Regions from separate parts of the Homo sapiens genome. Here region 1 is linked to region 2. Evidence: promoter capture Hi-C in human tissues and cell types (Jung and others, 2019). All regions are on one chromosome and are shown on one strand. Each heading gives the region's core, a stretch centred on a gene start or on the middle of the fragment in contact. The rest is flanking DNA. Distances are from core to core; before and after follow the strand shown.

Evidence for each region. Contacts are between HindIII fragments. The study calls those that stand out against the background at their distance.
Region 1: a contact is called between a fragment that was not itself captured here and the fragment with the promoter of RAB31 in region 2, in 2 of the 25 tissues and cell types used here (dorsolateral prefrontal cortex and mesenchymal stem cells).

Annotation. Positions count from the first base shown.
Region 1 is chr18:9,968,847-9,975,375 of GRCh38, reverse strand. No RefSeq gene overlaps it. Among named protein-coding and RNA genes, the nearest start is that of VAPA, 58 kb to the right of the region's middle. The HindIII fragment of the contact is 3,242 bases long and covers 3,621-6,529 here.
Region 2 is chr18:9,704,524-9,711,307 of GRCh38, reverse strand. RAB31 (RAB31, member RAS oncogene family) reads right to left here and starts at 3,007. Exons shown (of 7, transcript NM_006868.4): 1 at 2,864-3,007. The coding sequence starts at 2,902. LOC124904244 (a long non-coding RNA gene) reads left to right here and starts at 3,336. Exons shown (of 2, transcript XR_007066281.1): 1 at 3,336-6,784. It overlaps LOC105371981 (a long non-coding RNA gene), which reads right to left and starts at 2,636. Exons shown (of 2, transcript XR_935131.2): 1 at 1,315-2,636. RefSeq lists silencers at 2,413-2,642, 2,743-3,312. The HindIII fragment of the contact is 12,091 bases long and covers 1-6,784 here.

The DNA.
Region 1 (6,529 bases), core at 3,992-6,491, 260 kb before region 2:
GTACTGAAAATTTGATCATGAGTCACTTGAATAAATTAGGGCTATTATTTTTCTCTCATGCCACATGAAATCCAGACAATTAGTATTAGTCCAGCAGCTCAAAAGTGTCAGGGCTGAGAATTCTGTAATTTTCTCAGTCTTTAGTTCACGGTTTTAAGAATAAACTTGAAGACATAAAGCCAATCAAATTCACCTTTCAATCTGGAGAAGAGGAAAGTAACACAAGGAGAAAGTAGTAGATGCCAAAATAGGAAAGTACAACTTCCCAGAAATTTCCAGCAGTCTTTCACTTCTGATTGTTCAGAAGAGTATCACATGACCTTCCCCCAACTACAAAGGATGCCAAGAAATGTAATTTTTTAGTAGGGCACAGTGCTACCCCAAACAAAAGCAGGGTTCCATCCGTGAAGAAGGAAAGAAGAATGGATCTTGGGTAAGGCAAGAGCAGTAGTGCTACCGCTCCAGGAAGGCCTATGACACATGAAATACCCTATTCCAACTTTGCATGTACAAATCCATTGTAATGTCTGCTTGGACTTCCAGAATACCTCTGTGCTGAGCAGTAAAAGTCTTAAAAATCACATTTTACTCTGGAATAAGCTGTATGGTGGTTTTGGTTGGTTTGTTTATTCTTGACAGATGACTCCATACTGAATTTGTGGAACATGGTTTCAACATCACAAGATTGTTTTATTCTTTATAGTCAATAAAAAGTGTTCTCTTAGAAGTCAAATAGCTTCATTAGAAAATGGTATGTTAAGAAATAAACATAAAACTATTTCCCAAAGACATAAAATCAGATTTTTTAATTGAAAGTGCCCTGAGGCCTCATTCCTTCCCACTGGGGAAAGTCCAGGACAACTACCTAATGATGCTAATGAACTCCACCTAGCCCCTCTCTCCCACACACACAACCTAATGAGAAGCAGACATTCCCAATGCTGCACCCCTCCAACTCCACCTCCAAGTTTGTTCTCCCTTCTAATGTAGACAGCTTCTGGCAGAATGAGCCGCTTTTGGAGAATGGTAGTAATTTCCATCTTCCTGGTAGATCATGCCAAAGGGAGACACCGTCCTTCTCCTCCCAGATGCTGGCCTTAGGACCAGATTTCCTTACCTGGAAACTTAACAGCCTCTGTCCACCTGCAGCCTGCCAAGGTGTTGTAGTAGGTGAGAATGTGGGCTTTGAGGACAGAGACCGAGGCTCCAATCCCAGCGCAGCTTCTGCTAAACAGCCATGTACAGCAAACAGGAAAGTATGCATCTTAACAGCCCCCTATAAAACATATGCCTTTTGTGGTCTCCATACTTATGGCCCTGGGACAACAGAGGGAAGGTACTTAGCCCCTTCACAGGACAAGAGGGCTGAAAAACAGGCTTAGATATTGAAACAATTGTAATTTTCTTCAGCTTCTAAAGAACCAAAGTCAGAGACTTTAATTCCATGCCACTCCTCGATGGTCATTATGACTAGAAGAGGAATTAATTAGGGAGGAGAGGGCTATACCACAGACTGCACCAGGGAGCTGGACTGGGAAATGAGGGGACCCAGGGTGACTGGACTCCAGGCAGCAGACCCAGGAGGGGAGAAGTCTATAGAGTTGGGGAAATGGACACCAGGCACGAAGGTCTCCCGATGTCGGTGTAGACTGGGCCTGCCCACAGGAATGCAGGAAGCAGCAGGCACCCCAAAGCCCAGCTCATCATGGCTCCACCCTGTGCAAAACCACTCCCTGAGGCCCCACCCGCTTCAGTCCCATTCTATGCAAAATCCTTCCCTGAGGCCACCCACACACATGAGGGGGTGACAGGGAGCCTCAGAGCTGGATGAGAACCAGAGACCCCCCAATCCCACAGCCACTGAGTCACCTGACACACACACTCCATGAGAACAGAGCAGGTGATTAAGGAGGAAGTTAAAACAATGAACGGTTATTAAAAATAAAAACACAGCATTCCCTGAAGGGATTTTTTTTAATTATTGGATTAAGACTAAATTTCATATCAAACAGAACTAAAAATGATTTTCCTCTCATCCTCTACCTAGCAGGTGAGAAATATCACTTTATCCATGAAACAAAGAAATAACATTTTCTCAGTCATGTGAGCTATGATTTAAGTCTGGAATCACCCCACGCCGCCTGTGTAACCCACAATATAGAGCACCAGTGTGTCAGTTTCCAATTGCTGCCATAACAAATTACCACGAATGTAGTGACTTACACAGCACAAATTCATTCTTGCAAGTCTAGAGGTCAGAAGTCAAATGGGTCTCACTGGTTAAAATCAAGGTGTCAGCAGGGCGGTACGCCTTCTAGAGGCTCTACAAGAGAATCTATTTTATGTCTTTTCCAGCTTCCTGAGGCCACCACATTCCTTGGCTTCTAAGCCCTTATTCAAGCCCTTTCCTCCATCTTCAAAGCCAGCAGCATCTGGCTGAGGCCTTTTCATGCTGCCATCTCTTTGGTTCTCACCTTTCCAGCCATAGAAACTCTTATGATTACATTGGACCCACCAGGATAACCCAGAATAATCTCCCTACCTGAAAGTCATTGGATTAGCAACCTTAATTATATGGGCAACCTTAATTCCCCTTTGCTGTGTAATCTAACGTATTCACAGGTTCCGGGGATTAGGGTGTGGATATCTTTGGGGGCCCCTTGTTCTGCCAACCATACCTGGTAAACCTTTTTCCTCTGTGGAAAGGGGAGATATGGGCCTGTTGGAGGGATTGCAGGAGCCAATGTAAGTAAACTGACAGCCACAGAGTAGGCGTTCATTCGTTTGTGGGTGATTCCCCCCTTGATCAAGCTCTGGGTCTGAGGCCTGCTCTAATCCATGGCCTGGCCCCTTGGTCTAACCCCATGGCTGTCACCTGGCCCAGACCAAGTGACATTTTCACCAAGTGCAATGGAGACACTCAGGAATTATGATTTTTGTCAAAGATAACCATCTTCTTCATCCTTAGCTCTTAGGTAGGGTGGTATGTTGAATGCACAGGCATGGTGTATGTGAATTTAGATCCATTCCAAACAGATGTTTGCAATACCAGAGGAACACGCCTGCCTGCCTGCCTGCCTGAGAGCACACGCGTTAAAGCTAAACTGAGTTCAAAAGCATTCAAGTTAATGAGATGGCCCTCATTAGAGTTCCAAAACAGTAAACTCAAAGACAATTGTGTCTTAACATTTTCAGCAATAAAAAAGTTAGGACTTTTTTGCTTTTTAAATTACTGTTTTTTTAAGCCCTTATTCAAGCTTGCTTTCCCCTCAGTCAGAGCTTCCAGTTGACAATGGGTGGACAAGATAGGCTATTTACATGTTAACATGTTGGGGGTGTGGTAAGAGAGATGTACATAGAACCCAGAATTTAATCATGAAATCAAAAAGTTATTCAACATTTGAGGGAAGGATCAGGTAAAGAAAAACACATAATGCCTTCTGTAATTATAAGACATTATAAAAAATTAATGCTTTCAACAAAGTAAGTCACACAGATGAAAGTTAGTAATGAAATTAAAGGTATTATTCTACTATATATTTTCATCAAAGATACCACAAAAGCTTACCCACATTATCACTGTAATTAGCCTAATTTTCTACTGGAAAAACAAACTCTTATATCTTCTAAGGGAGAGTGGAGAAGTTTTATATCTATCCTTAGAATCAAAAAGAAAGCTTCCTTCAGCCTGCAATTACAGTTTGCACTAAAAACTTAATAGTTTGATTTTGTTTGAGATGTGGGTTTTTGAAAGGAATTGGTTTATACTGTCTGTACTAAATGTCTATCAGTACAGACAGTGTAAACCAACTTGGGTTTTCCATCGTGCAGAAAGCCTCAAGACACAAGACCACACTGCCACCTCGTGGCAGGATCAGATTTTACAACAGTTGAATTTAATGGTTCACCAGCCTTCAAGTTACTATTCAGAATCACCAGCCTTCAAGTTACTATTCAGAATGTGAAAAGCGTGTGTTCTAGGTGGTTATAGTTTAGCACTAAGAAAAACAAGAGTCCGGGGACAGGTTGTTGGAGGTGCTGAATTAAAACAATTTTTTGGAGTGCTAAATCTTCCCATGGCTTCCTAGGAAAGGCGCTAGCCCAATTCCTTCTGCACCATCTAAAATTCAATGAGAAAGGGGCCCCTGGAGTGGAGTGACACCGGTTCCTCCAAGGACCCTCTGTTGTGTACATTAAAATTCAGCAGTGCCATTTAGCAAAAATTAAATCAGTAAGGCTTTGGAGGTTAGGAAACCAAATACACTTATTTACCTAGTTTTAGAAACCAAAAAGAAAAAAGCTCCAAGTATAGGAAATGCTTGAATCTGATGAAATGCTTGGGATCCCCATCCCAAACACGCCACAATTGTTAAAATATTGGGGTTGATGTTACGGAAAATTCCCTAAGAAAAATGATTTAGGACAATAGCCACCAGTTTACAGACAAAAACAGAAGGATGGCAAGCTGCACGTTCAGGGTGATGGGGGAATTAGAGGTGTGGCTCTCCAAGGCTCCTGAAATGTCCACCGTGTGGTCATTCTTGGAGGACGGAAGCTTTGTGATCCTAAAATAATTAAATAAGGTGATTCCTATTTTTAAAGCAACAGAATTTGCATATAACCATAATTGTTGTATAATCTTGACCCAGTTATCCAAATTAAGGCCCCAGATATCTTCCTAATCTGATGATGAAGTAGTCAAGCACCACGTCGCTTTCCCCAGAGCCCCTTCTCTAAATACAAGGACATGGCAGGGTGGCTTCCTCCATCGCCCCCGCTGAGAGAGCAGGACCCGCAAGTGCCTCAGACTCATTCCTGCAGAACCAAGCCCGGCTTGCTGGTCTCTGCGGCGGCACCAGCCCTGCTCCACGTTCTTCCCAAGCGGAGGCCTGAGATATTTCCACCAACTCCTCAGAGGGTGAGAAAGAAGTTTCGAGGGTTTCCCTTCAGGAGAACCACCAGCTTTTCATGATCCACTCTTCAGACCCACACCCGCAACCAAGGCTGGCCATGAACTCTGGTGGCTGAGCTGAGAGGGTGTCACCTGAGGGAAGGATCCTGCATCGTCACCTTTCTCTTGTGCTTGAGAGAGGGCCTGGACACAGACAAGTCCCCTTGAAGCTAAAGGAACCTCCCAGGCTCTGCAACTACCATCTCCCCCCGTGGGAAAACACCAAATTCCACAAAGCCACAGGCCAATCCTCTCCCCTCCCACTCCCTGGGCCCGGGGAGAGGAAGTCCCACCTTTCCCAAGGGTCAAGGCTTGCCTGCTTTCCAAATGGCCACTTCCAGGATGGCTTTCCAGAAAAGTCTCCATGCAGGCACACCTATATGTTTCCAGAAAAGTCTCAACGCAGTCCCTGCAGTCTAAGGCCAGCATCGGCCCATCTCCCAAAGTCAGTGTGGTGTGGCTTAACACACCGGCTCACCCTAAATGTGCACTGAAGGGGCCCTGAACTACAATGAAGGGGACGCCCCGAGCCAGCAAACCCCGAGGGGCTGGGCGTGCCAGGCAGCTGTGGAGCCGGTGGAAGCAGTGAAGTTGGCAGCACTGGCATCGAATGCCAGCCAGGGAACCAAGAAAAGGCCACTCTTAGTAAGAAAGTGGTGACTTCGTGAGTGGAAGAGTTGAGGTAAGAAGTTATGGCCATAGAGGATATTTCTGCAACTCGGATGAAAGGATCGCTGTGATTGGAAAGCAGTTATCTGCAGCCGAGATTTCAGAGATGTTTCTGCCCAGTGGTGACAAAAACTCTCCCTCAGGACAGTGAATGACAGGTGTGTGAAGAAAGTGCCCTGGAAGGGGGAGGTCAACAAACAGCAACCCGCCCAGCGATGACCCCCGAGAGCGTGGCGGGCAGGGGAGGGTGCAGGCTGGAAGAGGGAAGGAGCGAGGTGGGCTGAGGGCGGCGCGAGCTGGAAACAAGCCTGGGCTGTTGCAAGAGGGAGGAAAGAAAACCTCAGAACAGGCGTGAAAACGAGGAAGGAAACCAGCCCCTCCTCCCAGCGTGGAAGGGTCTTCTCCATTCCAGACCACAGCAGGGCCCCCAGGAGACATCTCAGCTTCTGTTGGAGCCTGGCGGCAAAAGGCTGTCCCTAGAAGATGAAGAGCGAGGAGGTTTGTGGATCCCATATGGGAAGTCTGGAGCTCTGCGCAGAAATGAAGATGAGGAGAAGCAGGCGGGGTAGGTTTCAGTTGAGGCAGGGCTTTCAGATTTTTCTTTTAACCACAATCCGTAGTAAGAGCCCATTTTATATGGCTACCCCGTGTGCATGCACAATTGTGCGTTTTCTCTCTCTCCTTTCAAAAAAGACTTACTGAGCACCTAACTGTATGCCAGGCCGTTAACAGGCACTGGGGAGGCAGCAGTGAACAAAACGTCTGAAAGCGCTGCTCTTAGGGAGCTTGCGTTCTGGTGGAGGAGCAGACCGCAAGAGAAATGAAGACAGGTATGGCACATTCCATGGGGGTGAGGGGAGCCCGAGCGAGGGGCCAGAGTGTGAAGGGACGGTGCCATTGTTCAGTTGG
Region 2 (6,784 bases), core at 1,758-4,257:
TAGGCTGATGCAGAAGGATCCACTGAGCCCAGGAGTTGGAGGGTGCAGTGAGCTATGATGGCACCACTGCACTCCAGCCTGGATGACAGAATGTGACCTTGTCTCAAAACAAAAAAGAGGAGAGAGAGAGAGAGAGAAGAGAGTAAACCGAAGACAGTCAAATGGTTTTGATCTCCCTCAATGTTATCCCACCCAGAGAATCAGCCTAATTGGATGAGCAGCTAGAAACACAGCCTGCTGCACACATCTCACCCAGGAAAGAGCCAGCCAAACGAGGGGATGTGGCAAATCTTACTCAGTGTGGACAACAAGGTCATTTGGTCTTTCAAATAAAATGTCCTCTGATTTCAATAAAACTGAAACTTACAGCCACCCTCAAAAAAAAAAAAAGGAAGCCACAAATGTGGTGTGATATGACTGATGTTTCTTTTCTTTTGTTTTCTTTTCTTTGAGATAGAGTCTCACTCTGTCGCCCGGACTGGAGTGCAGTGGCGTGATTTCGGCTCACTGCAACCTCCACCTCCCAGGCTCAAGCGATTCTCCTGCCTCAGCCTCCCGAGTAGCTGGGATTACAAGCATGCGCCGCTACCGCCCAGCTAACTTTTTTTTGTATTTTTAATAGAGACGGGGTTTGACCATGTTGGCCAGGCTGGTCTTGAACTCCTGACCTCAAATGATCCCCCCGCCTCAGCCTCCCAAAGTGCTGGGATGACAGGTGTGAGCCAACGCGACCGGCCACGATTGATGTTTCAAAGCCTCCGTCTGCCCAGAAACCTCTTCTTTCTCTGCTTTGGCATGGTTCTTCCAACTCCAAGTTCAAATTCCTACACACAGAACTGGCAAAGGTAAGGCACTGTCTGCAGGAAGCCACTCAAAGAGTGTGTATCTTTCTTGGAGATAAAAGAAGTAAAGAGATTTCCTCCAGCTTCCTCCTCTCCCAGGTTTGCTAATTGGCACCCTGAACTCATAGATTAGCAGGAAATGGTAACATGTATCTTAAGAGATCATCTGGTGTAGTCCTCTGCCTAAAGGGGGAACATGTTATTATGCCCATTTCATAGATGAGGCCACTGAGTTGCTTTGCTAAAACGACACAGCTCTTTGGTGGGAAAGAACGAGAGCCTAGGTTTCCTGCCTCTTGACACAGGGTTCTTGCCACCTGATCAGTGTCCTGGTAGGAGGACATAGAGACCTGTCCCTAAACACCGAAACTGAAAATAAGGGGTCCTGTGACACGGCAGGGCTTGGACCACCTCAGTAAAAGTCAAGAGAAAAGAGTTGCAGAAAAAAAGGCAAAAATATGTCCTATTTCACCTTTCCCAAGGCCAGTCCTGACAAACACGGCACATCAAGGCTGCCTCTTCATTCCTTGGAACACGACATTCCTTCTAAGTCTCTGAAGGCCTTTCCTGAGGCTGAAATGGCCCCTCAAGAGGGAAGCATGGGATTCCTGGAATTTATGTCTGGAAATATTAGAGGGCCTGGGGAACAGGAAAACCCACTCCTGCCACACAAAAAGGTCAACAGAGAAAGACCAGACTAGATCCTGGCTGTGGCTGAGCAAGTCGGGGGAGGTGGGGATCTGTGCGGATCTGTGCCAGGGGCTAGCAGGGAGGGCAGGGCCTTCCCAGATCCTCTGGAATTCTAAGCCAACCGGACAATCGAGTTAGCGTAAGGGATGGTTTTGGAAGAGGCCGGTGATGGGAGCCGATGATGGGAGCCTGCCGGAGGTTCCACAAGAGCCTAGAGGAAGCCTAGAGACGCTGGCACAATTCAGTCCTCACCGAAATCATTTCCTCTTTCTACAGTTCTTGTACCCCCATCTTGACAGATCAGTTCGCACAAGAATGCGACCCTTTCGCTGCCCTTTTTTAGGAAATGGTTTTCATGAGACCAGCTTTGCCAATGACACGGGCGGGTACACCAGATGCTAATGGCTGCTGAAAACGCCCTTAGAACCGGCTCTTCTTTTAGAAGAAGGAATTCTGGAATGCGGAGTGGGCCCCCGAAAGGAAGCGACCCTACGTTTATCTGAATTCCCAGGGGCGGTTCGCCAGCGGCTCCCTGCGTCCTCGCCGGGTCCCCTGTCTGCAGTCCCCGGGCCGCACGGATTGACTGCTTTTTTGTTTCTGGCTGCTTTAAGGCTTCTTCGGGCGGAGAAAACCCCACTTTAGGGGAGTGATGGTGGGGAGGACTTTCCCAGGCAGCTTCTTTCACCCGCAGCAGGGAAGTTTGCAGGGCGCGCTCCGCACAGGTCACTGCCTCACCTTCCACCCCGGCCGCGCCCTCGGCTTTCACCCCCTTGGCTGGGTTCGCTTTTGGTTTTATTTTTCTGTTTTACGTGAGTAAATCAATTGCCCCCAGGAGGCAAAAGAGCACTCAGCGACTTGGCTGAGCAACTTAAACTTTCTGCCGGAAGGAAACTATCAAAAGCGGAGGAGAAAGCCCTCGGGGCCCCAGACTCGCCGCCACTGCCCCGTCCCCGCTGGGGGTCCCCGCGAGGTCGCCGCGGATCCGGGGACTCGCGGGCCGGGAGGAAAGAGCGGAGTAAGCCCGGGGCAGGCTCGGACCCGGACCCCGGCAGGGTGAGAGCGGGGGCGGACCAGAGGGGCGCACGGACGGCGGGGAGGCGGAGAACAGGCGGGGTGCGGAGAGCGAGGGGCGCGGAGAGCGAGGGGCGCACGGACTAGGGGAGCCAGGGGGACCCGGGGAACCAGGGGGCGCGCGGACGAGGGGGACGGGGGCTACGAGAGGGGTGCGGAGAGCGAGGGGATCACGGGGACTGAGCGCGCAGGGAATAGGGGAGCGAAGGGGCGCGAGAGCGCGGGCCGGGGTCCGCCGGCGGGTGGCGGCCAGGACTCACCCCGAGAAGGCACACTTTGAGCTCCCGTATCGCCATCATGTGCTCGCAGCCAGGCAGTGCCGGGGCTCAGCAGCATCCTCCGGGGCCGCCGCGCCCGCGCCCCGCCGGCGTCTCTCGCCTCTGCCCCTCGCTCGCGCCGCCCGCGGGCGGAACCGCCGCCGCTGCTATTTCTGGGCCGCCGGCCCCGCCGCGGTGGGTCACGTGGCCGCCGGCCGGCTCCTCCCGGGCGCGTCGGGTCCAGCCTCGCCGGCCCCCAGCTCCCAGGAACGCCCCCGGACGGCGTCAGCCACCCGGGACCTGCGGCGTCGCCGGCGGATTGCCTCCGCCCTCGGACCAGCCCCGCGCGGGTCGGCCTCCCCCAGCGCCCTCCGGCATCCGCCCCTCCCGGCCCCGCCTGGCCGCAGGGCCCGGGTGGGTAGGAAGGACTGGACCGGCCCTGTGGAGACCTGGCCCCACTACCAGCGGGTCCCTGAAGATGCCATTCTCATCTGGAAAGCGAATGCTCTCGGCCGAGGCCGTTTGCGTGGCAGCGCGTGGAGGTCTGCGGGGGTCCCATCCTCAAGCGACATTCTGGGTCCCACGCAGAAAAAGTCAGGCCACTGAAGGGGCCGCTGTGAGGACAGGGGTGAGGAGAAGGGGGCTAACTTTTCGGCCTGCCTTTCTCGACGTTCCTAATACCCGAGCTTCCGTTTAACATATGTGTGGCTCTTCAGCTCAGCCAAGTTCATTTTTCTGTATGCAGCTGAAAATGATTCTAGAAGCAAAACTCGCTGTCCGTGTCTGAAACGGGAAACTTGCTTTCTGGAGCAAAAGTCTTTTTCTCAGTAGAGCAAATCCTGCAACTCGTGTGGGCAGAAACCCAGTCCTCAGAGGTACAGGTAGAAACGTGGAGATCCCAGCAGACCCCTGCATCGTTCCTAACTGGGAAATGAGCAGAGTCTGTGGCCGCACACAGTCGGGGAGGCTTGGGTAACTGTGTTCTCTTCTCCATGTATGGCCTAGAGCACCTCATCCACTCGGATGACTTCATTCGTTGCTGCTACAGAAATGTCAGCCTTTTCAATGTAATCTATCTGAACAATTCACTGGCATTTCAGATGGGAAATGTTTTTTTAAAAACTGATTTTTTGAAACTTCATCTCCTATCCCAAACTCTCAGGCCTCTCTCTTAACCTTCCAATTTTAATCAATGGCATTTCCATTCTCCTAGCAGACCACCCACCGTGATCATCTGGCTTTGTTCTTACGGAAGCCAGGTTGAAGCTACCCAGTACCCAAGTAGCCCCATCCAATGGGAAATTCCAAATCAAGGCCTCCAAAGAGATAAGTCCTGGAATACAGGAGTCAAAATGGGCCCCGAAACAGACAATTCACAATTAAATTCCCCAGAAGAGCAGGAAGTTTGCCCTCGAGGTGCAGGCTTGTAGAGATTACTCAAATGGACTAAACTGTACAAAAGGCAGCCATGGACAAGTTACAGGTCCATTGTATCAGTATCCGTCCTTGACTCTGTATCCAAAGCAGAGTCTTCTATGTGGGCAGGGTAAAAAGAGGCTTCCCCAGAATCAAACAGTCCTGATCACAATATCTCCCTGCCCTCAGATTTGCTAATCAGAAAACCACCCCTACACAGTTGCAAAGACACCTCCCCCAAGGCCTTCGCCAGCCCTGAGGGCACCTCCACAGTGAAACATGTCCTTTTGGCTTTCCAGCTTGATTCCCAAAAGCCAGTCAAACCAGGGTGGAAGCCTCCACTGTGTTCTACATCCCGTGCAGTGAGTGGAGCTTTGTGAAGTTGCCTTAGATTGCTAAGGGCAGAACTGTGCCCAGACAGAAATAGGCAAACCGAATTTCTCTTGTGTTCCCTTACTCTTTTTCATGACTGCTCTCATTCTGCTCTCTTCTCCACTAGCCCGGGTGTCTGGGACGCTTGCGTCGTTTCTAGGCTCTCCCAAAAGAGTCTCGTATCCAGCCCTTCCCTCCCTGAGAATCGCCCCAGTCTATTTGTCCTTCTCCCCTCCCCTAGTTCTGTTAAAAATGACCTCATTTGTGTCTCATTCTGATCAGGTCTTGGGCTCTTCTTTACAAAGTGGCAATCCTAGTCTGTCAACTGACTCGTGTTCATGGGTTTATACCCTCTTCCCAGCCAGGTCACCCCTGAGCTTAAACATGGCCTCATGAAAACCAGGTCCCCATGATCACCCTAAGGTAACCTACAAAGCTCTAGCCCTGGAAGGCAGGAAGATGACTGCTGGGAGACATATTTTAAGAGTGACACGTCAGAGGCAGCTCTCGACTTTTTAAAAAAGTGCCATGTTCTCTATTGTTACACTCTATGATTACTGTACTAAGGGCCCATCCTGACTTCTCTGGAATTTTCTGCAAATATGTAGTTCTGGTGTAACTTCAGCAGGGGTAAAAATTCAATGGTACATAACTGACAATTTATCAAATTAAGAAATAGAACATGCAAGTTTTTCTTATAAGAATTTTGTAACGTAAATGGTCATTGTGCTAATTCAGACCTCAACTTCTCTGCTGCTATAAAGTCTCCAACAGAAAAAGCCAGTAATGGTCATAAAACTGATCATGTTTTTTGATTCAGGAAATCCTTTTTTGAACAATAACATACAAAGACGAAAAGTAAACAAAGCTGCCTGTTTGAATATAAACACATATGCAGACAAAAAAAACAAATAAATGGGTTAGAGAAACAACAACAAAAAAATTACATCCATGGAGGTAAAGGGAGGATTGTTGCGTTAATTGTAACTCAAACCTCTTAACACTTGAGGAATGATTAAGCAAGCTAGGGTGTCGTTACTGGGTATATTTGATGGTGTACAATAGTATATGTTACTTAGATATTAAATGAAATGTGTATACTATGTAGATTTATAGAGACGTTTATAGTAAATAAGGTTCTGTGAAAATAATATGACTCAAAATGTTAAATAGGATAAGCAATATAAATGTGTCACAACGCCCTGGAGTGCAGGCTGATCCCTGGAGACCAGTACTGAGTCATCTGGTCTGCTCAAGGGCCAATTAAGGAAAGATAAAAATGTTTACAAACCTTGTTTTTCATAATTTATCTTTTTTATGGAACTATAGTGTCTGCAATATCAGTTAAACAGCCTTTTAGTATTTCTCATTTATGTAACAACTCCTTCCTTCCTTCTTTCCTTCCTTCTTTCCTTCTCTTTCTGAAACTTTCTAAATAGCATGTGCTACCTAACCTTATTTGTAACCCACGCCCTTTAAACAAATTTTGAGGAGATGAATCCTGGACATACCAGGGTAGGAAAGGGATTTGAGGGATTTAGAAAAACAGAGGTGAGTGGACCCCACAATTCACCCACAGACTTGAAAAAGGAGACAATAGCTGGAGGGGGGAGGCTGGAAACTGAAGGAGCCTGTCTGTGGGAAAGGGAGCGTCCCTGAGAACCCCAAGGAAGGTGGCTGCTCGGTGGAGGGGCTATTAGGTAAGCGGATAGAAACTGCACAGCCTCCTTTGCAATTCCAGATGTCTTCATGTGGAAAGTGTGGTGACATCTTAGATGGGAGATGGGGAGGGTGGGGGCTCGCCTCCTCATCGTCTCCATCGCCTCAAATGGGAGTGCTCAGAAGTGTTCCAGAACAAGTAGACAGCTCTCACTGAAGACAGGGAAGGCTCTGTTGGGATCTCACAAAGGATTGGTGTCAGGTGATAATGTTTAAATTTTCCAGATTCCTGAGAGCCAGCACTGGGCAGCTTAAGCCATCCTCAGCATCCAACTGGCCTCTTTACTGACACTCCTGCCTAGCAACCTCCACTGTCCCTTGGATCTCTGGCTGAGCTTAAAGTGTTGGGTTAAAAGAAAATAAGCAATAAGATATATATTAACACCTCCCATGGAAGGTAAACGGATTGATTCAGCT